Linked DNA regions of Homo sapiens: all the other regions are linked to region 1. Evidence: promoter capture Hi-C in 16 types of primary human blood cells and fetal thymus (Javierre and others, 2016). All regions are on one chromosome and are shown on one strand. The core of a region is centred on a gene start or on the middle of the fragment in contact, and the rest is flanking DNA. Distances in the headings are between cores, read along the strand shown.

What was found. Contacts are between HindIII fragments. The CHiCAGO score rates a contact against its expected background, and 5 or more counts as called.
Region 2: a contact is called between a fragment that was not itself captured here and the fragment with the promoter of SLC10A4 in region 1, in 6 of 17 cell types (endothelial precursors, monocytes, naive CD4 T cells and 3 more). The highest score is 8.1, in endothelial precursors.
Region 3: a fragment that was not itself captured here is called in contact with the fragment with the promoter of SLC10A4 in region 1 in 13 of 17 cell types (endothelial precursors, erythroblasts, total B cells and 10 more); the score reaches 8.2 in endothelial precursors.
Region 4: a fragment that was not itself captured here is called in contact with the fragment with the promoter of SLC10A4 in region 1 in 3 of 17 cell types (M1 macrophages, total CD8 T cells and M0 macrophages); the score reaches 6.0 in M1 macrophages.
Region 5: a fragment that was not itself captured here is called in contact with the fragment with the promoter of SLC10A4 in region 1 in 1 of 17 cell types (M1 macrophages); the score reaches 5.9 in M1 macrophages.
Region 6: a fragment that was not itself captured here is called in contact with the fragment with the promoter of SLC10A4 in region 1 in 1 of 17 cell types (erythroblasts); the score reaches 5.2 in erythroblasts.
Region 7: a contact is called between a fragment that was not itself captured here and the fragment with the promoter of SLC10A4 in region 1, in 1 of 17 cell types (erythroblasts). The highest score is 5.6, in erythroblasts.

What each region holds. Positions count from the first base shown.
Region 1 is chr4:48,481,748-48,485,624 of GRCh38, reverse strand. SLC10A4 (solute carrier family 10 member 4) reads right to left here and starts at 2,282. Exons shown (of 3, transcript NM_152679.4): 1 at 1,474-2,282; 2 at 483-693. The coding sequence starts at 2,063. RefSeq lists silencers at 2,103-2,232, 2,313-2,362 and a cis regulatory region at 3,617-3,877. The HindIII fragment of the contact is 5,112 bases long and covers 1-3,009 here.
Region 2 is chr4:48,971,148-48,975,024 of GRCh38, reverse strand. No RefSeq gene overlaps it. Among named protein-coding and RNA genes, the nearest start is that of CWH43, 13 kb to the left of the region's middle. The HindIII fragment of the contact is 493 bases long and covers 1,527-2,019 here.
Region 3 is chr4:48,955,000-48,958,876 of GRCh38, reverse strand. No RefSeq gene overlaps it. Among named protein-coding and RNA genes, the nearest start is that of CWH43, 29 kb to the left of the region's middle. The HindIII fragment of the contact is 3,052 bases long and covers 667-3,718 here.
Region 4 is chr4:48,937,083-48,940,959 of GRCh38, reverse strand. No RefSeq gene overlaps it. Among named protein-coding and RNA genes, the nearest start is that of OCIAD2, 32 kb to the right of the region's middle. The HindIII fragment of the contact is 228 bases long and covers 1,975-2,202 here.
Region 5 is chr4:48,912,527-48,916,403 of GRCh38, reverse strand. No RefSeq gene overlaps it. Among named protein-coding and RNA genes, the nearest start is that of OCIAD2, 7.7 kb to the right of the region's middle. The HindIII fragment of the contact is 155 bases long and covers 1,854-2,008 here.
Region 6 is chr4:48,141,287-48,145,163 of GRCh38, reverse strand. It overlaps TEC (tec protein tyrosine kinase), which reads left to right. Exons shown (of 18, transcript NM_003215.3): 14 at 1-85; 15 at 3,745-3,809. Among named protein-coding and RNA genes, the nearest start is that of TXK, 9.0 kb to the right of the region's middle. The HindIII fragment of the contact is 5,689 bases long and covers 1-3,877 here.
Region 7 is chr4:48,181,596-48,185,472 of GRCh38, reverse strand. The region is part of intron 2 of TEC (tec protein tyrosine kinase); the gene reads left to right. Among named protein-coding and RNA genes, the nearest start is that of TXK, 49 kb to the right of the region's middle. The HindIII fragment of the contact is 1,421 bases long and covers 1,461-2,881 here.

The DNA.
Region 1 (3,877 bases), core at 1,033-3,532:
AACTTACTTTTAAAAATTTAATAAAATGTTAAAGGAACCTACTACAGAGTTTCTCAGAATTAGAGTTCCATTTTTGAAAAGATAGCCATGCATTTCTAAAATACTGCACCAATTCTATTAAAGTAATTTTATTTAATCTGCTTTTATGTTTAATTATATACAATTAGTGGAAAATATGTTGCCATTTAATTACACTGTCATCTTCCCCACCCTGCTATGATCTGTTTCCTTCCAATGAGTACTGATAGTTCTCTTATGCTGGTTTTGATTAAGCTGTGTCTTAATTAAAGCTGTCATTCTAGGAATCCCAAAAGTGGAAGTTATCTTTGTAGCATAAACTTTTTAAAAAAAATTTTATCCATGCAACTACTTCCAAGTCCTTTTCTTCCTTTCCGCCTTCTCCAAACTTCCTAACATTTCTGCTGTGGGTCAGAGATCAAGGGCTCTCCAAGCTAGTATGGAAAGGGAAGAGGGGGCCTTACCTTCACAATGTAGTCAGCCACCCGGCTGTATTTGTAGCGAATGAAGACGCCCAACCCGATAGGTATGAGAGTGCTGCAGAGAGTCAGGGTCACGGTCCCTAGGGGTAGTAACTGCACGATAGGGGTGTTGATCCAAGCCCAGCTGTAGATCCACAGGCACAGGGGCATCAAGACGAGGGCCAGAAGCGTGGAGGAGATGGTCATGATGATGCTGCAGAAAAGGGAATGTGCAGAAATCAGAACGAGCTTTGAGTCAAACAGCCAGCTAACCTTTTTCTTGTATGTTGAGTAGAGGTGGAACGGGGAGACTGCAAGTCCCGGGGTTGAAGTCTGGGCAGAACCTACATCCGAGGAGAGTGCCAAGAGAGCAGCACGTCTAACACCGATGGAATTATGAACCCAAGGCAGGGAGGAAAAACAAGCCCCCTGTCTCGGTACTGCTGCCCTCGACATTATAAAGTCTATTGAGCCTGGATGATTCTGAGGGGAAGGAACGTTCTTCCTTGCAAGCCCCCTGCAAGGTAAGCCATGGTAAAGCTGCTGACTGCTACTTGTTGGTCGGACTCAACAATCCTGCACTCTATGTGAGATTACTTTCTCTGACGGGCCAGTAGCCCTATTTTACTTTTACGTTGCCGGCGAGTTCTAGTTCAGACTCCCCCTTCTCTTTGTCTTCCACTGGACAACGACCTGCGCTGCCACCCCGACGCTCGGGGAGGACGGCGAGGGACCCTGCTGAAGGGCCGCGCTGCGCATGGAATCCCAGCCTTGGAGCAGCTCCCTCGCCGTCTAGCTTGCTCCCCTAGCAGCACAACCTGCAGGTCGGCCTTGACTTCTAAAGCCGGGGCGTCATCAACTTCCTCTCCTTTTCTCCTCCTTCCTCCACGCCTAATTCCAACCCCTCCACTGCCTCTGTCCTTCGTCGTGAGCCCACGGCCGTAAACGCGCGTCTGGGATGAGACAGATGCCCAAGGAATAGACAGATCCGTACCTGAGGTTCATGTCGCCGTCAACCAGCAGGGACATAAGATTGGAGAGATTGCCGCCGGGACAGCAGCCACACAGGAGCACCGCCACGGCGGCCACCTCGTCCAGCTTGAAGGCGAGGGCCAGCAGGAAGGCCAGCAGCGGCAGGAGGCCGAACTGGCAGAGCGCTGCCAGCAGCGCGCCCACGGGCCGACGGACGTGCGCCCCGAAGTGGTTCACGTCCACCGTGCAGCCCAGGCCCAGCATGGTGATGCACAGGGCGGCGCCCACGAACACGTTCAGCCCGTGGTTCAGCGGCGTGTCCCAGAACGGGAGCGCGTGGGGCGCCCAGGGCCGAGGGAACGGGGAAGGGCCGTGGCTCGCCGCGCCGCCCGCGAGGCCGCTGGTCGTGGGCTCCGGGGTCGGAGTGGGGCCGGGGCTGAAGCCGAAGCTCGGACCCGGCCCGAGGCTGAGCCCAGGGCCGGGGCCGGCGCTGGAGGCAGGGGCGAGGGCGAGGTCCGTGCCGGGGCCCAGGCTGCTGGCATTGGGCGCCAGGGTGTAGTTGTCCCGCAGCAGAGGGGCGAAGAGCAGGGTCACGTTGTCGTTGCCGTCCATGGCGCGGCCGGAGCTGCGGATTCCGGTCCCCTCCCGCCGCGTGCCTCTCGCCGTCCCGCGGTCGCCGCAGTCGCCGCCCGTCGTTCTGCCCGTCGGTCTCCGAGCCCCGGCTGCGCGCCGCTGACGTGCTCGGCGGCGTCGGGGGCGGCGGGCCGGTCTCCGCTCCCAGGTCTGCAGCCGCCCGCAGCCTGGCACTCCGCGCAGCGCGGCCCCCCGGGTGAACCCAATCGCTGCGCCGGCTCCGCGCCGCGGCCCCGCGCCCCGCAGGCCCCGCCCCGCCCTGCCGCCCGGTCCCCTCCTGTGAATCGCCAGTAAGTGGTTCTGTTATCGAGTGTAGCCAGGGGCGGAACAAAGACCTGACAAAGGACCAGAGCAGGAAAAAACCGTTCCTGGCTGCCGATCAAGTTCTCTGATGGGCTCTGCCTCTTTATAATGAAATCTGGAGACCCAGACACACAAAGTGGAGGGGGCGGGTGGATAACCTCATCGATGCACGCTCATGGCAGAAACTGTTCCTATAGCCTGCAGCCCTAAGAGGGGTGCTTGACTTAATATGAGCGATTCTCTAGTAAGCAGGACACGATATCTGGCTTGAATTTGCAAACAATTTTTTGCATGATTTTCAGTCTTAAAGTAGAATGTAATAATAATATAGCGGGTTTTGTGCAAGTGCGTGTGCATTATTTCATTCGATTCTTACAGCAAAGCCGTGAGATAGATACCATTTTTACAAGCTCGATTTTTACAAACGAGGAAACTGAGGAACGAGGAATTCTCAGTCTTATCAACCGAACCCACAAGTACCTGGCTGAATCTGCACGGCGATGTGTCCCTAAAGAGGGCAGAGAAGAGCTTGGCTAATAACAATTTCCATGAAAAATGTGTGTTTAAGAAGTTATTGGCAGGTGGAGAGAGGATATTTCAGTGGCCACAGATTTACGAAGCTTTATGAGTAAGGCCCTGGCATTAGGATTAAAGGACTGAAAAGAAATAAAGTGCTGAGATTCCCTGCTTGAGACAGGTTTATCCCAAAACAATTCAAAAGCAGAGCTCTTAGGAATGGAGATGCAACAACTTTTAAGTCAGTCACTAGATGGCATGTAGAAAGGAAAATAATTTCGCTGCTTACCAACCAGGTGGGGCCTGTTAAGGAGGCATCTAGCTCCCTGGGGGTGACCATAAAGTGATAGTCAGTTGAGTTGTAAAAACCAACAGGAATTTCTAGAATGAAATCAAGGCTCAGTCTTAGCCCAGGGTTGCTTTCACAAGGAGCCAAGATATAGTGAATTCTTCTATCTGGGAACTTTTCCCTAACTCCTGTCCTGGCACAGAGTGACTTCTATTACCCAAGGGTGGGCTGAGCCTTTCCTCCTCCCCAAATCTCATGAAGATGATGGAGACTATGAAAAGTAAGACTTTGCAAATGCAAAGCATATTGCACTCTTCATCACAAATAATTTATTTTTTCTCTTTTGGACTGTAAATTCCACGAGGGCAGAGCTTTTGCAAGAATCTAGGAGGATAATGTACCCTTACACTTTTCCAAAACACTAAACCCAGAAAAAAAAACTTCAGTGAGCTAAACTTTAAAGGAAGTGGGTTGTGACCAAAAATATTTTAAGTTGACATGTCACCTTATGTAGGTAAAAAGAAAGATATTCAGATATACAATGATCCATGCTACCCAACCGTTACATTAGTAGACCCAGGGAAGATGTGTGGAGAAACAGACAAGATAAGGAGGGAAGGCACTGCTGAGCCTTCACAGTCTTGAAACCACAGAATGAGATAAGCCAAGAACACAAATGGCAAGG
Region 2 (3,877 bases), core at 524-3,023, 490 kb before region 1:
AAAATCAGAGAAGCTACTTAACCTTTCCGAGCCTCAGTTTCCTCATCTGTAAAGTCTCCTTTGCAGAATTGTGAGGATTTGAGCCATGCATCAAATGATTGACCCAGAGTATGCTCTGAGAAGATAACAGTACTAAAGTTACTTGGTGGTGAGCAGAGTATGGAGCACCAAGATTAGAATGAAAACTCTGTGGGGGTGAGTACTGCGCTGCACCACACTCATCTTTGATGGTTTGTTTTTTGGGGTTTTTTTTTTTTTGGTTTTTCTTTTTTTTTGGAGACCAAGTCCCATTCTGTCATCCAGGCTGCTGGAGTGCACTGGCACAATCTCGGCTCACTGCAATATCCACCTCCCGAGTTCAAGTGATTCTCCTGCCTCAGCCTCCTGAGTAGCTGGGACTACCGGTGCCCACCACCATGCCTGGCTAATCTTTTTGTATTTTTTTTAGTAGACATGGGGTTTCACCATGTTGGTCAGGTGGTTCTCAAACTCCTGACCTCAGATGATCCATCTGCCTCACCCTCCCAGAGTGCTGGGTATACAGGTGTGAGCCACTGTGCCTGGCTTCATCTTTGATGTTCGGATAATCAGTAGCAGAGCATGGCATATACCAGGTGCTCAGCAGATATTTGGTGGGTGCAAATGAATGAATGAGTGAACAAATGAACATTGTTTCTTATTGATAGATAACAAAGACAAAGCTGCATAAATCATTTTAGGCTGGGATTTTTGTTCTACAGACTGGTTCTTCCCAATAATACTCTCCCTTCCCCTTTATTTCTTTTTCTTGCATTCCATCCAATCACTTCAAGGAGCTTAAAGATTATATAGTCAAAAAGTTTATTTTATTTTGTTAAGTTATTATTTTTATCACAGTGAAATTTTTAATTTTATCAAAACAGTTCTAAGATTCACACAGTAAGGACAAAACTTCTTTCTCCTGGCCCTACCCATCCCATCCCTAATTCCTATTCGTCAGGGGCAAACATCTTCATAGCTATTTTTTCAGCGTTCACTTCCATATTGCTTTTTCTTGATTTTTAAATATTTTGACATCATTGTTTTTATTGTAGAAGATGAAGGGTTAAATCTCTTACAGTGCTTCTCCCCTAGAAACACATGCACACAGATACATAACATGCACGCATACCCCCCACATACACACACCTTCTCCCACTCAATATAGTTGTTTCAACTATTTCTCAAATTTTGATTAAATCAATAATGTGTTTATCATATTAAGATTGCATCACTGCTAATCATGCAGAACGCTTAATTATATTTTATTTCTCATCTAATTATTGTGTTCTCTTTCGTTTATAATTGATTTTTTGTTAATTTGTTTGTTTGTTTGTTTACTTAACTGTGACAATCACAAACTCATTCCCAAACTATCCTCCAGTCCTGTAAAACCTCAGGACCATCAAGACCATGAGGTATTCTATCAGCTCCCTTTTTCTCTGAAGTCATCCCTCCTGGTGTTCTCTGCTCTTCTGCTCCAATCTGGGCAATCTGCTTTCCAAGCTTGCTGCAGGGCTGTTGTCCTGAACTTCCCTTCAGCCTCATTGGAGACATTGCTTCATCTCTCTCCCATACTCGACTCCCTCTTTATAGGATCCTATGTCTTCCTCTTGACTGGTTTACTCCAGCAGCTTCCTGAGAAAGAGTGCATGGGAAGTAAGTTTTTTTTGAGGCCTTTCATGGCTGCAAATGTCATAATTCTACCCCATGCATGTTAGTACAATCCATTGAGATTGAAAAATTATTAGAATAGGAAACACCATATTGCAATTATTCATCCCCAGGTTTAGCCAAGTGTGAGAGGAATTCCAAAATAATAGTGACTTGAACGAAATTGAGATTTTATCTCTGTCACATAAAGGTTGCCATAAGTAATCCAGGGCTGGTGTGCTTGCTCCACAGGTGTCAAGAGCCTGGGCTCTTTCTATCCGGGTACTCACCATCCTCAACAGGCATCCTTCGTTTCATGGTTCAGGACAGCTGCTTCAGCTTCAAGCTTCACATTCTCAGTCTAACTTACAAGAATAAGAAAAAGGAAGGAGAAGGACAGGGGACCACCCTTTCAGGACATTCCCTAAAAGTTGCATACCTGACTTCTACTTCCAACCCATTGACCAGAATGCACTCATCTGACTGCATGAACAGTCCATCCTTATTTTACCCTTGTGTTTAACCTTAATTTCATGACACCTCCCACAGATTTTATTGTACCTATATGTCTGCATCATTACTATTATTAGATTTTAAGCATATGGTGTGACATAAACATGCCTCTTAATTTTTATTATATCTTCACTTAGTAACCCAGATGTTGGGTGCCACTAACCATTACTTCTGTTTTGTAGGCTATATGAAGTTTGAAGCACAATATTACCATACTTCCCCAGAAGAAACTTCACTCCACAAATCATTAATGATTTTTGAAGGTTGGCCTGATTGTCTTCCTGGGGAACTTTGTCCATATTGGTAATTTATTTATTTATTTATTTAGAGACAGGATTTCCCTTTGTCACTGAGGCTGGAGTACAGTGGCAAAATCTATAGCCCGCTGCAGCCTTGAACTCCTGGGCTCAGGCTCAAGTGATGCTCCCACCTCAGCCTCCCAAGTAGCTAGAACTACAGGTATGCACCACCACATCCAATTAATTTTTTAAAATTTTGTGTAGAGATGGGGTTTGTATTAGCCTGTTTTCACACTGCTATAAAGATGCTACCTGAGACTGGGTAATTTCTAAAGAAAGGAGGTTTAATTGACTCTCAGTTCCATTCTGCATGGCTGGGAGTCTTCAGGAAACTTACAATCATGATGGAAGGTGAAGGAGAAGCAAGGCACCTCTTACATGGCGGCAGGAGGAGCAGGGGGAAGCGCCACACTTTTAAACCATCAGATCTCATGAGAACCCACTCACTATCATGAAAACAACATGGGGGAACCACCCACATGATCCAATCACCTCCCACCAGGTTCCTCCCTTGACACATGGGGATTACCATTCAAGATGAGATTTGAGTGGGGCCACAGAGCCAAACCATATCAGGGCCTTGCTATGTTGCCCAAGCGGTGGTGTAATCATACCTCACTGTAACCTTGAATTCCTGGGGTCAAGTGACCCTCCCACCTCAGCCTCCCAAAGTGTGGGGATTACAGCCATAAGTCACCACACCTGGCCAATATTGGCAGCTTTAGGCTTCAGAACTGTTTTTATCTTTTTTGGTGAGGAGGTCATGTAATGTAAAGCAGGGGAGGTGTTTTGTGTTTCCCACCTTGCAGAGTAAGGTGGCTTGTATCAGAAGAAAATGAATTCTACATTAATAAAAGGGCAGAGAAGAAAGAAGTTCCTTGGATTAGATTGATTTAGTTATTCCAAAATGTATACATATATCAAAATATCGGCCTGGCATGGTGGCTCACACCTGTCATCCCAACACTTTGGGAGGCCATGGCGGGCAGATCACTTGAGGTCAGCAGTTCAAGACCAGCCTGGCCAACATGCTGAAATCTCATCTCTACTAAAAATACAAAAATTATCTGGGCATGGTGGCTTGCACCTGTAATCCCAGCTATTCAGAAAGCTGAGGCAGGAGAATTGCTTCAACCCAGGAGGTGGATGTTGCAGTGAGCGAGATCATACTGCTGCACTTCAGCCTGGACAACACAGCGAGACTCTGTCTCAAAAAAAAAAAAAAAGAAGAAGAAGAGAAAAAACTATCACGTGTGCACCACCAAAACTATACACAATTTTTACTTGTCAATTAAAAATAAAGGACCAGGCATGGTGGCTTATTCCTGTAATCTCAGTACTTTGAAGACCAAGGCAGGTGGATCACCTGATCCCAGGAATTCAAGACCAGCCGT
Region 3 (3,877 bases), core at 943-3,442, 470 kb before region 1:
TAGCTCTGAGCAATAGCGTTTCCTAACTTGCCCATCAGCCTACACTCATCACTCCCGCACCCACCCCTGCCTGCAAGTTCCATCCTATTACACTGATCTTCCTGAAAGACAGACTGATGACATCATTCCCCTACTTTAAGATCTTTGGTAGCTTCCTTAAATGACCTTCCATGTTCCCTAGAATGTCATCTTAAGGACTGCTATAGTCCATTCTGACTTGTGTTTCTAAGTTCACCTCTGGCCATAACACCCCCCTCCACTCCCTCACCTAGGCATCTGATACTTTATACCACATGTGAGCACTTTCGCCACACATCTGGACAAGGGAAAGAACATAAAGCTTGTTAGGCAGGCAACTTAGGAGTCAATATCTAATTCCACAACTTCTAGCTACGTGACTTTAGAACAATCTGTCTGTGCCTCCATTTCTTCATCTGCAAAATGGCTACAATGACATTTTTCTAACAAGGATGCTTATTCACTGAATAAATATTTACAGAGTATCTACTGCGTACCAAATAGGGTGTTTAGAACTCTTTAAATATTAGCTAATTTTCTCTATGTCTACTTCCTCCTCACCTTTGTCAATGTAATTCTTTCTTATCTGAGCAGAAGAAGCCCACTTCAAAGCCAAGTTCAAAAGTTATTTGTGACATTGGTGAAGCTTCTCCCAGCCCTCAAGTCAAGGCTCCACACACTCTCCTCAGTAGTTGGAACCAGTATCACGTAGTGTATTTTGTTACCTTTCTGATGTATCTGTTTCCTCCTATAGGCTCTTTGCAAGTAAAAGTAGTAAAAGTAAAAAAGTAACAGTAGTCTCTTATATATCTTTGCATCTTACACATCTAAATATGCACATAAATACACTGAAGAGGAAAAAAATACAGTGTTATCTATTGTTACCAAGACTTTCTGACCCAGCATGATTCTCTGGAAATTAATTATAAATATGTTTTGTGTTTAAGTGTCCCAGACATTTTCAAATTGCCTTTCATATTTTGCTAAATAACTTCCTGCCTTTGTTACAGGAAAGGGGTCCAGATCCAGACCCCAAGAGAGAGTTCTTGGATCTCATGCAAGAAAGAATTCAGGGTAAGTCCTCAGTGCAAAGTGAAAGCTAGTTTATAAGAAAGTAAAGGAATAAAAGAATGGCTACTCCATAGACAGAGCAACCCCAAGGGCAGCTGGTTGCCCATTTTTACGGTTATTTCTTGATGATACGCTAAACAAGGGGTGGATTATTCATGTCTCCCCTTTTGAGATCATATAGGGTAACTTCCTGACGTTGCTGTAGCATTTGTGAACTGTCATGGCGCTGGTGGGAGTGTAGCAGTGAGGATGACCAGAAGTCACCCTCGTCACCATTTTGGTTTTGGTGGGTTTTGGCTGTCTCCTTTACTGCAAGCTGTTTTATCAGGTTTTATGTTTTGTGCTGTTTTATCAGGTTTTGTATTTTGTGCTGACCTCCTATCTCATCCTGTGACTTAGAATGCCTTAACCACCTGGGAATGCAGCCCAGTAGGTTTCAGCCTCATCTTACCCAGCTCCTATTTAAGACAGAGTTGCTCTGGTTCACATGCCTCTGACACCTTGATAACAATAAAACCTTATTAATTTGACTTTTCTTCTAGAGAAGATAGGCTTTAAATTCACTGTGTTCGTATTTTTGAATATCTGTGTCAGAAAACAGTTGGTGATTTAGTTAGCTAGAAAATAGCCTTTATTTACGTTCGTGTATTATTTTGAATAGTTTTACATTAATGATGTTTAATTATACTTGTTTCTGCCACTATTACACACATTTCTGTTTCTGTTACTTTTTTTTCTGTCTCTCCCCACTAGAATGGACATATTCAAAAATGCAGGAATCTTGTGTACTGTATTCACTGTTGTGTCCCTAGAGTTTAAAATAATATTTATTTAAGATTTGTCAGCTAGAAGATGAAGAAATGAATGTATACTATATTTTAATTTTTAATAGAATATAAATTATGAAAATGTAAAACATTGTGCATAACACTCTACCAAATAAATTAGTTGAATTATAACTGGATGGTCTAATATTGTAGATATCTCCATTTGTGTGACCAACTAACACCTCAAGACTTTTTTTTTTTTTTTTTTTTTGAGATGTAGTCTCACTCTTGCTGCCCAGGCTAGAGTGCAGTGGCATGATCTTGGCTTGCTGCAACCTCTGCCTCCCAGGTTTAAGCGATTCTCTTGCATCAACCTCCCAAGTAGCTGGGATTACAGGCACCTGCCATCATGCCCAGCTGTTTTTTGTATTTTTAGTAGAGACGGGGCTTCTCCATGTTCGAGTCCCCCAGGTCTCGAACTCCTGACCTCAGGTGATCTGCCTGCCTTGGCCTCCTGAAGTGCTGGGATTACAGGCATGAGCCACCATGCCAGGCCTACAAGACCTCATATCTTAATGTCTTTGAGTGTCTAACCCTCATCCTACAGCCAAACCTTCTCCACACTCCTTCAGACCCACATTCCACTCCTATTCCTTTCCTTTTTTGAAGACAATCTTGTTTCTTTCCTTACTCAGAAGGTAAGGCCACCTGATGAGATCCTTTTCAAAGTCCCTCATTCTATTTCAAACTTTGTTTCAAACTCGTCGTAAACTTTATTCAAGATTTCCTTTCCATGCCTCACACTATTTCGTGTCTGTACATTTTCTATTTTCCTATAATTCTCTTTCCAGTTCTACATGCCTGGATCTTACTCATCCTTCACAGCCTGACACAGAAACCATGCTCTCCATGAAGCCTTCTTGGATTTCTCCAGCGAGAAGAAACCCATCCCTCCTGTGACTTTCCTCAGCACTTTATGTGCACTTCCTGTAGGACATTCTAAAAAATGAGGCCATTTTATGCAAAGTATTGTGGGCATTGGGAAGGTTAACAGATGGTTCCAGCCTTTGAGGAGTTTGCTATCTAGGAGTGTAGTCCAATAAACAACTATGAAGAAATATGTGAGAATGTTTGAGAGCCCTTGTTAGAATATAATGCAGCAAAACAGGTCTTTGGTTTTTTTTCATGTTTGTATTCCACAGAGTATGGTATAGATCCATGACTGAATAAATGCATATTTCAAGATTATTTAAGAAATTCTGACTTTTGGCTGCACACAGTGGCTCACACCTGTAATCCCAGCACTTTGGGAGGCCACGGTGGGTGGATCACTTGAGGTCAGGCATTTGAGACCAGCCTGGCCAACATGGTAAAACCCTGTCTCTACTAAAAATACAAAAATTAACCAGGTGTGGTGGCGCATGCCTATAGTCCCAGCTACTAGGGAGGCTGAGGCAGGAGGATCGCCTGAACCCAGGTGGTAGAGCCAAGATTGAGCAACTACACTCCAACTTAGGCAACAGAGTGAGACTTTGTCTGAAAATAGAAGAGGGGAGGAAGGAAGGAAGGAAGGAAGGAAGGGAGGGAGGGAGGGAGGGAGGGAGGGAGGGAGGAGAAGGGAAGGGAAGGAGGAAGAAGGAAGGAGGAAGGAGGAAAGAGGAAGGAGGAAGGAAGGAAAGGAGAGGAGAGAAGAGGAAAGGAAAGGAAAGGGAAAAGGAAAAGAAAAGAAAATTCTGGCTTTTTGCACTAAAAGTGCTTACCTGCCCTTCACATAACACTATCCAGAGAGGAAACCCTTCACTGTCATGCCCAGAAAAGGTAAGTATCCCTATGATCAGTCTGCAGATACAGAAGAGAAAGCTTTATGCTAAAAAAAGAGATTGTGTGTGTGTGTGTGTGCGTGTGTGTGTGTGTGTGTGTGTGTGTGTGTGTGTGTTTCAATTAGCCTGGAAGAAATGAGGCCTGGAGCAGAAAAGGGGAATGAGGTAAAGGACATGATAGTTAAGATGTACTAATGTTAG
Region 4 (3,877 bases), core at 839-3,338, 460 kb before region 1:
ATTCTTACCTATAGCTTCTTTTTTGGAAAGGTACTAATCTTAGCTGCAGTGATTAGTGAGGAAAGGGGTACATGTTCACTGAGCTAGTCATTCCTGAAACAGGATTCAGGAAAGGGCAGTTTTGTGACTCAAGTGCAGTTTTGGAATGACTTTTATGAAGGAAGAAAGCAATGTTCTCCAGGTAGTCAGAATAATTCAGACTCCAAAAGTATCACCTGATTTATAAGTAGTAATTTGCCAGCCTTGGCTTCTTCAGAGGAGAAAAATCCTTGAAGGTATGTGTATATATTATGTATATATTTTTAAGTGCCAAAAAGTGCATGACATCATTGTTAATTTAAGAGCAAAAATTCAAGATCATAAAAAGAGGGAGAAGACCTATTCGTTGACCAGAGCAGACTTATGTGACATGCAGAGAATGAACTCTTGCCATGTACATTTGGAGTCCAATCATTTCAAGCCCATCAATAGTGCAATTGAGTACACATGGGCACAGAGAGCCTTCCTAAGGTATTACAGCAAGTCACAAAATCATAAACAAAACCAAAAAAATACATATCTTTGTGTCTGTGTCTCATGGACCTAGTTATTCCTGCCTGATGCCAACATCAGATTGAGAACAATAAAAATTTATTCAAACCAATAGCCAAGGAAGAAACTGAAAATATTTTCAAGAATTGCCTCTACATATGGGTTTTGGCATCAAGTAGTCATACTGCCTATAGTCTCACACTTGCAAAGAATAATTAATTCCAATGCAATATAAAATGTTCCAGGATTTAAAAAAGAATTACCCAATTTATTTTACAAAGCTAAAATAAATTACAGCAAACCCCAAAATGACCAGCACAGAAAAGAAAAATATGAAAACAGCATTTATTTTGGAGAGACTTCTAGCATTACATAACCAAATTAAGTATGCAGGTGCCCTCTGACTCAGAAATTCCACTGATGAGCACATATCCTGGAAACATTCCCAGGCAGGCTGAAGAGGGAAATGTACATGGTGGATCATTGCAGCATGGTGGTGGCAAGGAGATGGCATCACTGGGAGAGTGAATGGGTAAAATGTGGTGCAGGTACACCACAGAGTATTTTGCTGTGGGTAGAAGCAATTAGTTGGACATACTTAGAGCAGTAGAAATTGATTTTAAAATATGGTACATAGTGAAAAACGCAAGAAACAGAACAATATAAAATACAATATCACTTAAACAATATGCAAACCAGTAATATATGCTTTTCAAAGACACATTCAAAGAGAAATAAACATACACATTAAAAGTATTACTGATTGGAGACAATGGGACTAGGATATAAAATAAAGGGAGTAAATAAATGTATGGCTGCATTCCAATTTCCGTGGGCCCGAGTCCCTTTCGCCTTCATGGGTCCTTTCCTCCATTAGAAAAGTATTTAAAAATCATATTTTACAACTGTGTTGGTATAAAGATAAATATATTAATATTATGTATTAAAACATTTTCTCTGGGCCAGGGATGGTGACTCACACCTGTAATCACACTTTGGGAGGCCAAGGCAGGAGGATTGCTTGAGGCCAGAAGTTCAAGACCAGCCTAGGCAACATAGTGAGACCCTGTATCTATTAAAAATAAATAAATAAATAAATAAATAAAATTAAAATAAAAACTTCTTTGCCCTAAAAGTACATTTTTACTTCTGACTTACAAGAAATTAAAACACTTTCCTGGGCCCCTTAATGTATCATGAGCCCTAAGATACTGTGCTTTCTGTGCCTGATTTGACTCTGAATAAATGAATGAATGAATGACAATGGGTCCTTGTAGGAACAACTGATAATTGTATGTCAGGAACTAAGGAGTATGATTCATTCAGTGCTCTGCATTTTAGGTCCAAAAACCTTTCCAGAAACAGCAGTTCCTTAGGTGTGTTGAAGAACTCTGACTTATGAAAGCAGGATATTACTAAGACTTATGAAAAAAAAAGGAAGCTTTCCCAAAAACGTATTCCATGTGGAAAATGCTGAGTTAAACAAAGCTAAGCAGGTTTTTATATCTTATGATCTGTCAGAACCTTTACTATATAGTGTAATATAAGTTATGAATCCGCAAGAAGGTGCGCAGGGAAGTTAACAAGCAGGGTTTCCCAAAGCCATTTAACAGTGACATTCTTCTGCTTTGATGGTAAAGGCACTGAGCGCTGAGAACTCCCTGAAAAGCTTGGCCCAGGTCAGTCCCTGCCCCAGGATCAGGCAGGTGAATTCACTCACAGCTGTCTGAGCCTGGACCCCCGTCTACCCTGCCTGCCCAGGCAGAGCTGTGCTTCCACTCAGGCTGGCAGACTGGGGCTCTTCAACCTCTAGGTTGCAGGACAGTCCCTGGGGACCACTGTGGCCCAGGTCAGGACCAAGCCAGAGATTGTGGGTATGGTTTAATTTACAACCTCTGAATACTTAGACATAAAGTATGCGGGCTTTCATTTGTACAATACACTTCCTTGTCTTTTTCAGTTTTAGAGGCTGCCTGCATTCCTTGGCTTGTGGCCCCTTCCTCACATCACTCCAACCTCTTGCTTCTGGGGCCACATCTTCTACTACTGCCTTTGACTTTATTCCCTCCTTCTTATAAAGACCCTTGTAATTACATTGGGTCCACCTAGAAAATCCAGATAGTCTCCCTATTTCAATATCCTTAATGTAATCACGTCAGCAAAGATCCTTTTACCATGTAAGGAAACATTCACTGGTTCCCAGGATTAGGAGGTGGATATCTTTGGGGGCTATTGTTCTAACAGTCCTTGAGAGATTTCAGTGAGCAGAGCTCCACCTGCTAAGCTGCATTAGACATGCAGTATGAGAAAAAAAATTGGGGGTGCATTGACTCACTGAGATTTAGGAGGTTGTCTATTACTACAGCAGAATTTAGCACACATTTATACCTCATTTCATTTTTGCCTCCTGTTTATATTTTGCAATAACTCTATGCATTAAATATGACTTTTTAAAATAAAGTACTTTTAAAATAATATACTAGGAATAATCAATCTATGAGCAAACCAAAGAGTGTTTTTGTTCTTGAAAAAGGTAACTTCAGATCTGTAGACTTAAAAATAAACATTGCCCACATTTAATATCCTAACAAAATTCTTTCCTGACTCTGAAAAATCTTCAGATTCCCTTTGTTCCAAAAAAACTAAGAGGTGGCCGGGCACAGTGGCTTATGCCTGTAATCCCAGCATTTTGGGAGGCCAAGGTGGGCGGATCACGAGGTCAGGAGGTGGAGACCATCCTGGCCAACATAGTGAAAGCCTGTCTCTACTAAAAATAAAAAAATTAGCTGGGCGTGGTGGTGCCTGCCTGTAATCCCAGCTACTCCGGAGGCTGAGGCAGGAGAATTGCTTGAACCCAGGAGGCGGAGGTTGCAGTGAGCTGAGATCGCACCACTGCACTCCAGCCTGGCGATATAGCGAGACTTCATCTCAAAAAAAAAAAAAAAAAAAAAAAAAAACTAACAGATTAGCAATGTTGATTTACTTAGATGTCGAACCAGGTGAAAGTAACAAAGAAAACAAACTTGATTGAAAGATTGTTAAATCTAGTCCCTAAATCTAGTCCTAGGAAAAACCTAGAAGTTGAGGAATGAGGATGGAGGGAGTTTTTCCTGATAATGGAAATGCAAATACACTTACCTGACTTTCTAAAGCACAATCCTTTCCCTAGTTCATGTAATCGTGTGTTATAGGTCATAAAACGTAGAGTGAGAAATGTTTTACAGTCTTGAATTACAGAGTCCAAGCTGTGCCACCATCCACATGTCTTCTTCATAAGTTGGATGGACTTCTGGACATGTCAGTCTCAGTACAAATCAGTGGTCACCAGCTTTTTGATTGTGACCCT
Region 5 (3,877 bases), core at 682-3,181, 430 kb before region 1:
CACAAGTAATTGAGACTAGAAAAAAATAATAGCCCAACTAACTTAAATTCTGAGCAAGGATTAGGAATTGTAGACACAAGGCAGCTTTGTGACATGGATACCAATATAAGAAGTAAGATTTTGGGTTTTTGCCTTTGAGGCTTTATCGTTTTAGGTGGGGCTTTGGGATGCAAGTTCTCATTGGAGACTTCAATCTATTCATAGACAAAGTGTAAAGTAGCAAGGCTTAGTCACATTAGCAACCAACAATGTAATACTGGGGAGATATAAATTCAGCGTGTTGCTAGCTTGCAGTGATAAAAGTCTTTTGAATCCTTGTTCAAAGACAATTCATTTGCATGTGCTTTAAAGACTCAGGAAATGGCCGTGGAAAACCTTTATTCAAGGTAGGTAAATAAAAAATGTTGCTATGGGATTATTAAAATAGACTGGAGAGATTTCAGGTACTTCCATTATTTACTTACTCACCAAATATTCTACATGACCTGCCTTAGCCAGGACTGTGGACATGCTATAGATGTGAATTTTAGTTCACTTCACTAGGGTTTCCAAAAGGCCATGTACTTTTGTGTCTCTAAATAAAGTTACATTTGTTCAGAGTCCCCTTTCACTCAGGAAGTTCAATCTCAAGAATTTGGTGGGGATGGGGGGCAGGAACCCTTTTTCCTAGGGTCAAGTGAAGGGATCTGGCACAATCTAGAACATTCTAGAAGATCCTCTGATCTCTTCTGGTCACACTGAACTGGTTGAGGTATTCAGTGTCAAAATCCACGTGGTCCCTTGAAAGCAGTGGCCCAGTCCCAGATCTTTTGGCGGCTGGGAAATTAAAGACTTGGTGAACCTTCTCTCTCAGGGGACCATGCAGCTTTTCTGCCATGAGGTCCTGCCACAGACTAGCTGTGGGAGGGAAGTGCTGGTCTCCAGTACCACAGGACCTGAACACCTCTGTCCCGCTCCCAGTCTTTTGAAAAGCTTTCAGAATCTTCCCTCCAGGGTTGGCCCACTTCCTCTCTTGGTTGGGGCTTCTTTTTTACAACAAAATTCTATATAGGGGTGATATTCCAGATGCCTGTTTCATGCTTTATCCCTGAACTCTTTGTTTATCCCTATAGTGCCAAAGTCATTAATCCTGAAATTAAGGACACTTGGTGACTTTCTTGGAATGGGGAAGAGAGAATCCTTACCATTTGTTCAGACTGCTGAAAGAGTATGTAACTCAAATTAAAATCTCAATATGGTTTTCTAGTCACAGAATTGAAGGTAAGAAAGACAGCCCCTGCCTTCAGGTATCTCACATCCTAGAATAGAGGCGAGTAAAGAGGTCATCAAAATACAGCACACAGGAGAGATTCCTGCCTCAGGGACCAGGGAGGGAGAGTTTCCCTGGAGGAAATGGTTATGAACACTTAAACAACACTCCCTATGTGCCAGGCACTGTGCCAAGCAATTATTTATATAAAGATATGGAGTGGGGCTATAACTGAGCCCAGGTAGTCTGGGTCCCTGCTTAAATTCCTAGGCTTTAGGGATATCTTCAATGGGACCCAAAGAAAAGTCATAAACTTGCCATGGCAGAGCATGTAGGTGCCTGTCAGAGGGTATAGGGTGGACACAGTGCAAAGATGCCCTGAGAGGCACTATCAAGTGGGAAGCTGGAATTGAACTGCCTGGAGCAGTTACAGCTTAGGCCCCTCCCCAAGTGGACTGCCAGGATACTGAAGCTTGTTTCCCTAATGCTCAGACAAGTGAATCAGAAAAAGTGGGCTGACTAGGGTAACACAGGGATTCTCAAAAATTCCTCTGTGAAAGCGAGTCTTCCCCCAACACTCTATCAAGATCTTGATTACTAAGCTTATTAGGTTTTGATTACTAAGCCTCTCATCTAAAATGGAATTATGCCCTGCAAGGAGCTAAATCTGTGGTTCGCATTTACATCTTGCTGTGAGTCATTTTCACCAGCAAATCAAATTGCTTTTCTCCCACCCTCACCATAGCCAGGTGAGAAGCTTGCTATCTAAAGAGAGGCTCAGTACAGATACTAGGACACAAAGCTGACAATGCACACTTGTCATGGGGTCAACACATTTGCCGTAAGATATCACTGTCCTCTGCTTAACCACATATTCTCTCTGCTACACCAGGAACATTCTGTTTTTTGCATTCAAAGGCTTTGCGTATCATGGACTACGGAAAGCAGTTTTGGAACATTAAAGTAGTAAATTTACTTTCAGGATGTCTATTGTGAGCAGTTGTGAGTTAAATAAAGGATAGCCTCTGGGAGGCCGAGGCAGGTGGATCACCTGAGGTCAGGAGTTCAAGACCAGCCTGGCCAATATGGTGAAACCTCCGTCTCTACTAAAAATACAAAAATTAGCCGGGTGTGGTGGTGCACGCCTGTAGCCCCAGCTACTCTGGAGGATAGGACTGGAGAATCACTTGAACCCAGGAGGCGGAGGTTGCAGTGAGCCAAGATTGTGCCACTGCACTCCAGCCTGGGCGACAGAGTGAGACTCCATCTCAAAAAAAAAAAAAAATGATAACAAAGGATAGGCCTGACGCAATGCAGACTGGAGACACAAGCAAATCAATATTCTCTCATCTTCATTCTTCAGCCTTTCCCCATTTGGGTCAAAATTATGATCATTGGGGCCTGTTTCACCTCTTGCTGAGTCTGGCATTCTGAACATCAAATCTAGATGAAGCTGAAGCAGCCAGAACTCTGGGTTGATGGCCCAAAAGCTCAGGCTGAGAACTGGCAACGTGCCTCACCCAACAGCCGTGCCAGCTCATAAGGGAAAGCAGAACCTGCAGTCCATCTTTGTGTGACACCTCATTTAAACCCAACTGCTCTGCTTTTGTGAGACTTGATATAATTTATTCCTCAGAGAGGGAATGAGTGACTCACGAGATCCTGTGATTCACAGAGCCTCTCACAGAGGTACGCAGATGGCAAGTTGAGCTGGAATAAGAAAAAGAATGGCAGGATGCCGAGGACTGCTCTTGCCACTCCATGAACACCCAAGATGTCCCCGACACACACATGAAACCTCTCCACACCAGGAATCCAGCCAGAGCCCCTTCTATAGAGCAGGAAAAGGTGGTTGTGGGTGAGCTCTGGGCTCCTGTGGGCATCAATCTAGATTTCCACTTGCTTTTTTTTTTTTTTTTTTTTGAGACAGGATCTCCCTCTGTCACCAGGCTGGAGTGCAGTGGAGCAATCATGGCTCACTGCAGCCTCAACCTCCTGGGTTTGAGCAATCCTCCTGCCTCAGCCTCCTGAGCAGCTGGGACTACAGGTATGTGCCAATACAGCTGGCTGATTTTTAAAATTCTTTTTGGTATTTTGTACAGATAGGGTCTCATGTGTTGCCCAGACTGGTCTTGAACTGCTGGCCTCACATGATCCTCCCACCTCAGCCTCCCAAGGTGCTGGGATTACAGGTGTGAGCTGCCTCATTTTGTTTTTAATCCATCTCCATCCCTCCCCTACTAGGGCTTGCTATTCAGCCAACCACACTGCACAGCACTCTCTCCTACCACACAAAGCTGCTTGTCCAGGTCTCTCCAGGTGTCTGTATCTATCTCTTGTTATGCATCAGTCTATGTGTGTCCTCTGCCCAATGAGGCTACTGGAGACATAACATACTGTAGAGGTTAAGAACATGAGCTCTGGGACCAGGCCACTGCAGTCTGAATCATGGCTGTGCCACTTCCCAGCTATGACCTTGGCCATGTTATTTAACTTTTCTCTGCCTCATTTTTCCTACCTATAACATTGGGATAATAGTACATATTTCTAGGGTTGTTTAAAAGGCCTTGCAACTAATCTGTTAAGAAAGAAAGGAAATTGTTCAGCTCCCTCTTACAAGTGAGAACA
Region 6 (3,877 bases), core at 759-3,258, 340 kb after region 1:
TAGAGACGTACTGCTGAGCATGTGTCAGGATGTGTGTGAAGGGATGGAGTATCTGGAGAGAAACAGCTTCATCCACAGAGATCTGGTAACCCTAGCCACCCATATTCCCACTCATTGGCTGAATTCCTTTGTAACACTGGCTCAGCAAATGTGCAATGATGTATTAATAGCCAATTTTTGTTCTTAACAATCTTTCACCATTATTTTTAAAGTTGGTAAATTTAACTTGCCCTGTAATTTTAAACGAAAGATCTTTATTCAATCTAATGATTTACTTAGTTAATATCTCCAAGCAAGTTTCCATGTTTTAATTTTTCGATCTCCATAAGAATCCCATGAGATAGCTACTCACAGTGGATTCTCTTACCATCATTCTTGTACAGATGAGAAAATTAGCTTCAGGGAAGTCAAAAGGCTCGCCTACTGTGATAAATAGGGAAATTGGGGTTGGCCTTGACTTTCTAACTAGAGCCCAAGTTCTTTTCCACCTCACACACTATAAAAAGAAACTATAAGAGAAATCCTTTGGATTTTTAAAAAATCTCTCAAATCACTGGGAAAACATGGAGGTTCATGTTAACTTCTCAAAATGCTAGAAAAAGAAATCCGTTACCAGTTCTAAATTATGATGGAGACAATTTTTCCCTTCTCACCTGTTCTCACTCTCTCCTCCATTCTTCTTTTCCTTCTGTTTTTCTTCTCTACCTGTTCTTTACAGATGCTTTCAGCTATCAGTAGCACTCTGTCCCCTGAAAATAATCAGCTGAAAATGTCTGTTTTCAGCATATCGGTAGCACTGTCTGTCCCCTGAAAATAATTCTTTTACCAAGAAGAGTGTAATTTTCATTTGGGACTTTCTCCCATATTTTAGTTTTAGCTTTCTAGTGATAAAGCATGGACACATTTCTTTTAGAAAGCAGAAAAACTTTAAAAAAATTTTTTTTTCCTTTGAGACAGGTCTCACTTTGTCTTCCAGGCTGGAGTGCAGTGGCGCAATCTTGGCTCACTGCAGCCTCAACCTCCCGGGTTCAAGCGATCCTCCTGCCTCAGCCCCCAAGTAGCTGAGACTATAGGCACGTGCCACCATGCCTGGCTAATTTTTGTAGAGATGGGGTTTCACCGTGTTGCTCAGACTGGTCTCGAACTCTTGAGCTTAAGCAATCTGCCTGCCTCAGCCTCCCAAGTGCTAGGATTACAGGTGTGAGCCACTGCACCTGGCCTTAGCAAAACATTTTTTAAAGTTAACAGTCACCTTAGACAGACATTGTTCTGATAAGTATTTTACAAATAAACTTGTTTAATCATAATTCTGGGAAGTAGATTTTCTTATTATTCCCTTTTTACAGATGAGGAAACTGAGGTGCAAATAGGATAAAATAACTTCCAATGGGCAAGTAAATTGTAGAGCCAGGATTTGAACCCAGGAAGTTTGGCTCTAAAGTCCCTACTTAACTACTATGCTATGCTCTCTAGAATTAAAACATATTAGAGAATTGAAGATTTGGAGATGGAACACTTTATTTCCTAGGTGTGTTTTGGGATACTTACCTTATCTTATATTCAGTTTCTGTGTCTGTAAATTGTGGGTTATAATGTTGTTTGGCTTCCAGGACTGTTTTAAAGGTCACATTATTTGACTGGGGCAATGGGCTTTGTAAAATAGACATGCTGTAGATAACATCAGTTATTGTTATCATTGTGTCAGGGATGATGAAGAACATCTCGTCAGTTAAAACTTGTGAACTAAGAACTAAGAACAAAATAGATGTCCTTATAAAACTGATAAAAACTGAGTATCTACGTGGGTGTGGCAGATTACACCTGTCCACACAGATGATGTTTTGGCAAAAACGATTCTTACATTTCTGTGCCTGTGATATTGGTATTACTATGGTAGGTTTGTGTCACCCCTTATGGGAAACTTTGGATGCTCTTGTCTCCTTGGTAAAGAATCCTGTTGACCATCCAGTGCAGGCATTGTGGAGTTGTGAAGTGTTTTCATAGGAAGATGCAGGCAGTCCAGGGAATGGATATTAACTCTCACTTTATAAGACTCTTAAAATGCACTCAGCAAGAAGGAACCTCATATGAGTGGAATTGCCACATAGAGAAAATAGAATTATGAACAGTCAGGAAGAAAAACATATCTTGGTCTATGGGTTATGGTATTAAAAATATTATCGGCCAGGTGTGGTGGCTCACGCCTGTAATGCCAGCACTTTTGGAGGCCGAGGCGGGCGGATCACGAAGTCAAGAGATCGAGACCATCCTGGCAAACATGGTGAAACCCTGTCTCTACTAAAAATACAAAAAAAATTAGCCAGGCGTGGTGGCAGACGCCTGTAGTCCCAGCTACTCGGGAGGCTGAGGCAGAAGAATCACTTGAACCCAGGAGGTGGAGGTTGCAGTGAGCCAAGGTCGCACCACTGGACTCCAGCCTGGTGACAGAGCGAGACTCAGTTTCAAAAATAAAAAATTAAAAAATTAAAAAAAAATTCTTGTCTTCCTTTTGAGAAATACCACGTCTTTCTATCAAACTATTTTCTTAAACCTTGTAACCTTGAAGAACATGCAAGAAAATATAAATTAAATAATCCACAATTGTATTTGACCAATTTTGTACATCATGTTATAATATACTGGGAACATAAATGAAAAAGCAAACTGTATTTACACATAGCTGTTCTTTTTGAGACGGAGTCTTGCTCTGTCACCCAGGCTGGAGTGCAGTGGCGCGATCTCTGCTCACTGCAACCTCCACCTCATGGGTTCAAGCAATTCTCCTGCCTCCAGTCCTAGGTAGCTGGTACTACAGTTGTGTGCCACCACACTTGGCTAATTTTTTTTGTATTTTTAGTAGAGAAGGGGTTTTGTCATGTTGGCCAGGCTGGTCCCGAACTCCTGACCTCAAGTTATCCACCCGCCTTAGCCTCCCAAAATGTTGGGATTGCAGGCGTGAGCCACTGCACCCAGCCTGTTCTTTGACTGGGATGAGATGACCAATCACTGAGCAGAAATATTGGATAAGAGATTGGTCGCCCATCATTTTGATGGTTGTGTGTTATTAAGCTCACCTAGTGAGAACCGGATTAAGGACTTCAAGAGATGTTCTCATTGTCAGTAAGAAAATTGGATAGTTTAATAAGAACAGGTCTGGGAAGGAGAAAAGTGAGTTGACCCTTCTATTAGCCCTTGTTTAAGAATGACAGTTGGCCGGTGAGGTTGCTCGTGACTATAATCCTAACAATGGGGGAGGCCGAGGCAGATGGATGAGGTCAGGAGTTCAAGACCAGCCTGGCCAACAAATACAATAATTAGCTGGCTGTGGTGGTGGGTGCCTGTAATCCCAGCTACTCTGGAGGCTGGGGCAGAAGAATCACTTGAAACTGGAAGGTGGAGGTTGCAGTGAGCCAAGATTGTGCCACTGCACTTCCAGCCTGGGCGACAGAGGCAGACTCTGTCTCAAAAAAAAAAAAAAGAAAGAAAAGAAAAAAAAAAGACAATTGGTAAAGATTATGTAATAATGCCTTATTGCAAATACAACTTTCTGACCTGCCTATTCATTTTTTTCAAATACACAATGGAAATACTTCCATAGGGGTAAAAACAACTTATTAAAGGGTGTTTCCACTCTCTGCAAATGTTGACTAGGTTACACTAAATTTAATATAAATAGAACTTACATTTTCCTACTTAAATGATAGAATTTTTAAACTAATATACCATCATAATGTTGTTTTCCAGGCTGCCAGAAATTGTCTAGTAAGTGAGGCGGGAGTTGTAAAAGTATCTGATTTTGGAATGGCCAGGTATGTCCAAGTATACGTGGTTTTAGGTGATGTTTGCATTTTTTTGGTGGAATTAATAAGTGTGGGAA
Region 7 (3,877 bases), core at 922-3,421, 300 kb after region 1:
CTCATAGAATCATCAAATTGGAAGTGCCTCTAAATTCTATTCATTTGACTTCTCTTAGAAAGCTCTATGTAAAAAATTATTCCCAGTATTCACAAGAAAAATGTCAAATCCATCCTTTTTTTCGTTTCTCTTAATTAATGTGTTCTGCTGTACTTAAGACCCATTCTTCTAAATCTGTTCTGAGTGGAAAGGGAAAAGACTACATGTATGAATAGAATAGGCCTTTTAGGGTCATTTGGTGTTTTTAGTAGAATATGTCATTCATTTTCTTTTCTGTTAAACAGTTGACTGGAACTCTTTAGTCTTTCACTATTGACTCACCCGAACTTTCATTGTAAATATGATCATTTGTCTCTGTAACCCTAGAAGATGTTGGGTTTTTGTACATTCCATAAGGGCAACGGATTGTGTGTGTGTGTGTTTTCAAGTCTCTATTATGGTACTTTGATATCTGTGCTTTGCAGATGGTAAAAGGACACAGCAGTCAATATTTAATGAACATGGCTGAAGGACTAAACCAAGTTCACAAACTAAATACAAATTGTCGTGAGGGAATGCAATGAATGTTAGCCACAGGTTTAGTGCTATGCATGTGTTGAAGACCGCAAGTTCTAAATTTTGTCTTCTTAATTTGATGAAATATTTTATCCCTCAATAATATTTAATGTGTGTGTGTGTGTGTGTGTGTGTGTGTGTGTGTGTATTTTTTTTGTCTGCCTGGTCCTTTGTTGCTAAACATGCCATTTCAGCAGTCTGCTTTGGGTTTGTGTTTGAGATCTGTTTTAATTGTTGTGGCCTGTTGAGAAAGAACACAGACAGACTGAACACAAAACAATTCAGTGGTGCAAAATGAGGCCTAATGATAGGATAGCAATATATGTACAAACAGAGGTTCTTTATAATTGAATTGAGAAAAGAGGTGGGAGAGGGTGTCATGTGGCACACAGTAATATAAGCATGTGGATGGCAAGAGAACTACTTACGGAGAGATTCAATTCCAGCCAACACCCCATCTGTCACATCCAAGTAATGTTAATTTCACTTTATTTGCTGTATAGTTTTGTTTGTATTTAATTTGTGAACTTTCTTTGATTTTATAGTTGTATACAAGCTATAAGTTTAAGAAATTTCTACTGAATTTATGTTTGCACATAGTTAAATGATACCAAGTTACTTAGGTATAGGTGGCACTTACAAATTCAGGATTGGAATTAAAGTTCAAATCCTGGATTATTGTGTGACTTTGGGCAAGTTAATTATACTCTCTATGTATTGATTTCTCCATCTGCAAAATGGGGGTGACAGTAATTCTCATGTTATAATGCTGTGAGGATTCACTGAGATTATCCACATTAAGAGGCTAATGTATTGCTGGTTTATAGTAAGTGTTCTATAATTGTTAGCTATGGACATGATAATATTCTTTTTTTTAATAATAAAAGTCCATAACTATTCAAGCTTTACAGACCTGGAGTCAGGTAAAAGCATTACTGTTTTTGAGGGATTTTAGTTCAATTCTGGCTCAGCCTCTACAATCCTTAGCCAGTCTCATAGCCTCTCAGTGCTCAGTTTCCTGCAACTTCCTAGGGTTACTGTGAAAACTGACAGTATATGCTACTATTTGGGGAGTGAGTTTGTATTAATCAGGGTTCTCTAGAGAAACAGAACCAATAGGATACATATAGATGTATATGAGGAGATTTATTATGGAAATGGGCTCACGCAATAGATTATGGAGGCTGAGAAGTCCCACAATCTGCCATCTGCAATGTGGAGACACAGAAAAGCTAATTGTGTAATTCAGACCAAGTCCAAAGGCCTGAGAACCAGGAGTAGGGGAGGAGGCTGCTGGTGGAAGCCTTGGAGTCTGGAGAGCCAGGAGCACCAAAGTCTGAGAGCAGGAGAAGATGGACATCCCAGCTTTAAGAAAAGAGTTCGCTTTCCCTTTGCCTTTGTTTGTTCTATTTGCCCCCTCATCGGATTGGATGATGCCCATCTGCGATGGCAGAGGTGGATCTTCTTTACTCACTCAGCTGATTGAAATGCTAATCTCTTCCAGGAACACCTTCACAGACACCTGGAAATAACGTTTTACCAGCCGTCTGAGTATCCCTTAGCCTACTCAAGTTGACACATGAAATTAACCATCACAGAGTTCCATGTGTCAGACACTGTTAAGCACCTATGAACATTATCTTTAATCCTGCTGATAGCTTGGCAAAGAGAGCAGCATTGTCCTATTTCTACGGAGAAAGGAACTGAAGCACAGAGAGAAAACTGGGATTGCCCTAGGTCGTATGGCTTATAAGTGGCAAAGCAGAGGCTAGAAGTCAGGATCTGCTTGTCTCCAAAGCTCATGCTCCTTCTCTGAGGTCCTCTTGCAATGCAGACATGATTCACCCAGGAGATTTCCTCTGCCACAAGACCCTGGGAACAGCCACATCAGGAATAAAATTTGTGATGTGGGAAAGGGACGAATCATTTGGAATATTGGAGGGACACCCTGGCAAGCCTTTCCCTGTGTGTGGTGGGGACTCTGGATGCCTTGGGAAAAGGACAAGAGGGTGTCCTGAGATAAATGACTTCTCAGATCACCTGAGACCAGCCTGGTTATTTGTATACATTTTTTTCTCACTTAATTTCTTTAGATTAGGATGGATATTTGTATTATTAAAATACAGAGTATTCTGGAAATTAAAGGAAAACAGTGTACCTTGTAAGTCTTGCTGGGGGACAGAATCTCATCCATCTAACTCCGAGTTCTGCCATTCAGTTGATGTGTAGTTTAAAGCAAGTTATATTTCATCTTAATGCCTCATTTTCCCATATACGCTGGTTTACAATATATAAAATGGTCATTGCTTACTTCCATTTTCAAGCTTTGCAAAGTGTGCAAGAGAGGACACACACACACACACACACACACACACACACACAGAGTATTGCCCATGGTCCTTTGCATACTGGGTCAGCACACTGTTGAATTAGTATCCACTAAGTGTCAGGTGGTCTTCTTAGCTCGGCAGATTCATAGAGGATTCAAAGGTGAGTCAGGGAAAGTCTCAGCTTTATCATGATTTTCAGTCTAGTAAGCAGGGCAAAGGCTATAGAATAGAAAGGAAATATAACACAAAAAAAAGTAATGACCTTGGATATTTCCCCTTGGGCCACAATTTTTTTTTTTTTTTGAGATGGAGTCTCGCTCTGTCACCTAGGCTGGAGGGCAGTGGTGCGATCTTGGCTCACTGCAACCTCCACCTCCTGAGTTCAAGAGATTCTCATGCCTCAGCCTCCAGAGTAGCTGGGATTACAGGTATTTGCCACCAAGCCTGGGTAATTTTTTTGTATCTTTAGTAGAGATGGGGTTTTCCCATGTTGGGCAGGCTGGTCTCAAACTTCTGACCTCAAGTGATCTGCCTGCCTTGGCCTCCTAAAGTGCTGGGATTACAGGCATGAGCAACTCCACCCAGATGGGCCACAATATTAACAATAGCATATAGCATATGCCATGAATCATGAAGTATTTTCTTACTGAAGAAATTCTAAAGAATAGTCTAAATGGAGGAGAAACTGTGAGTTCCTTCTACGGTAACTGCTCAGAAATCATTTCCTAAAGCTTTTATTCCTAAAGGGCCCCACTGTGGAAAAGCTTTAAAAAGCTGGCATGTCAGGAGTTAAAGTGGGCTCGGGGAGAAAGTGCATGGGATAGCATGCCTCACTCAGTAACTCTCTGTTCCCTATGGTGAATCCTTTATCCCTTCCAATTCTTTTCTTTTTCTTTTTTCTTTTTTTTTTTTTTTGAGACAGAGTCTCACTCTGTTGCCCAGGCTGGAATGCAGTGGCACTATCTCGGCTCACTGCAACCTCTGCCTCCCAG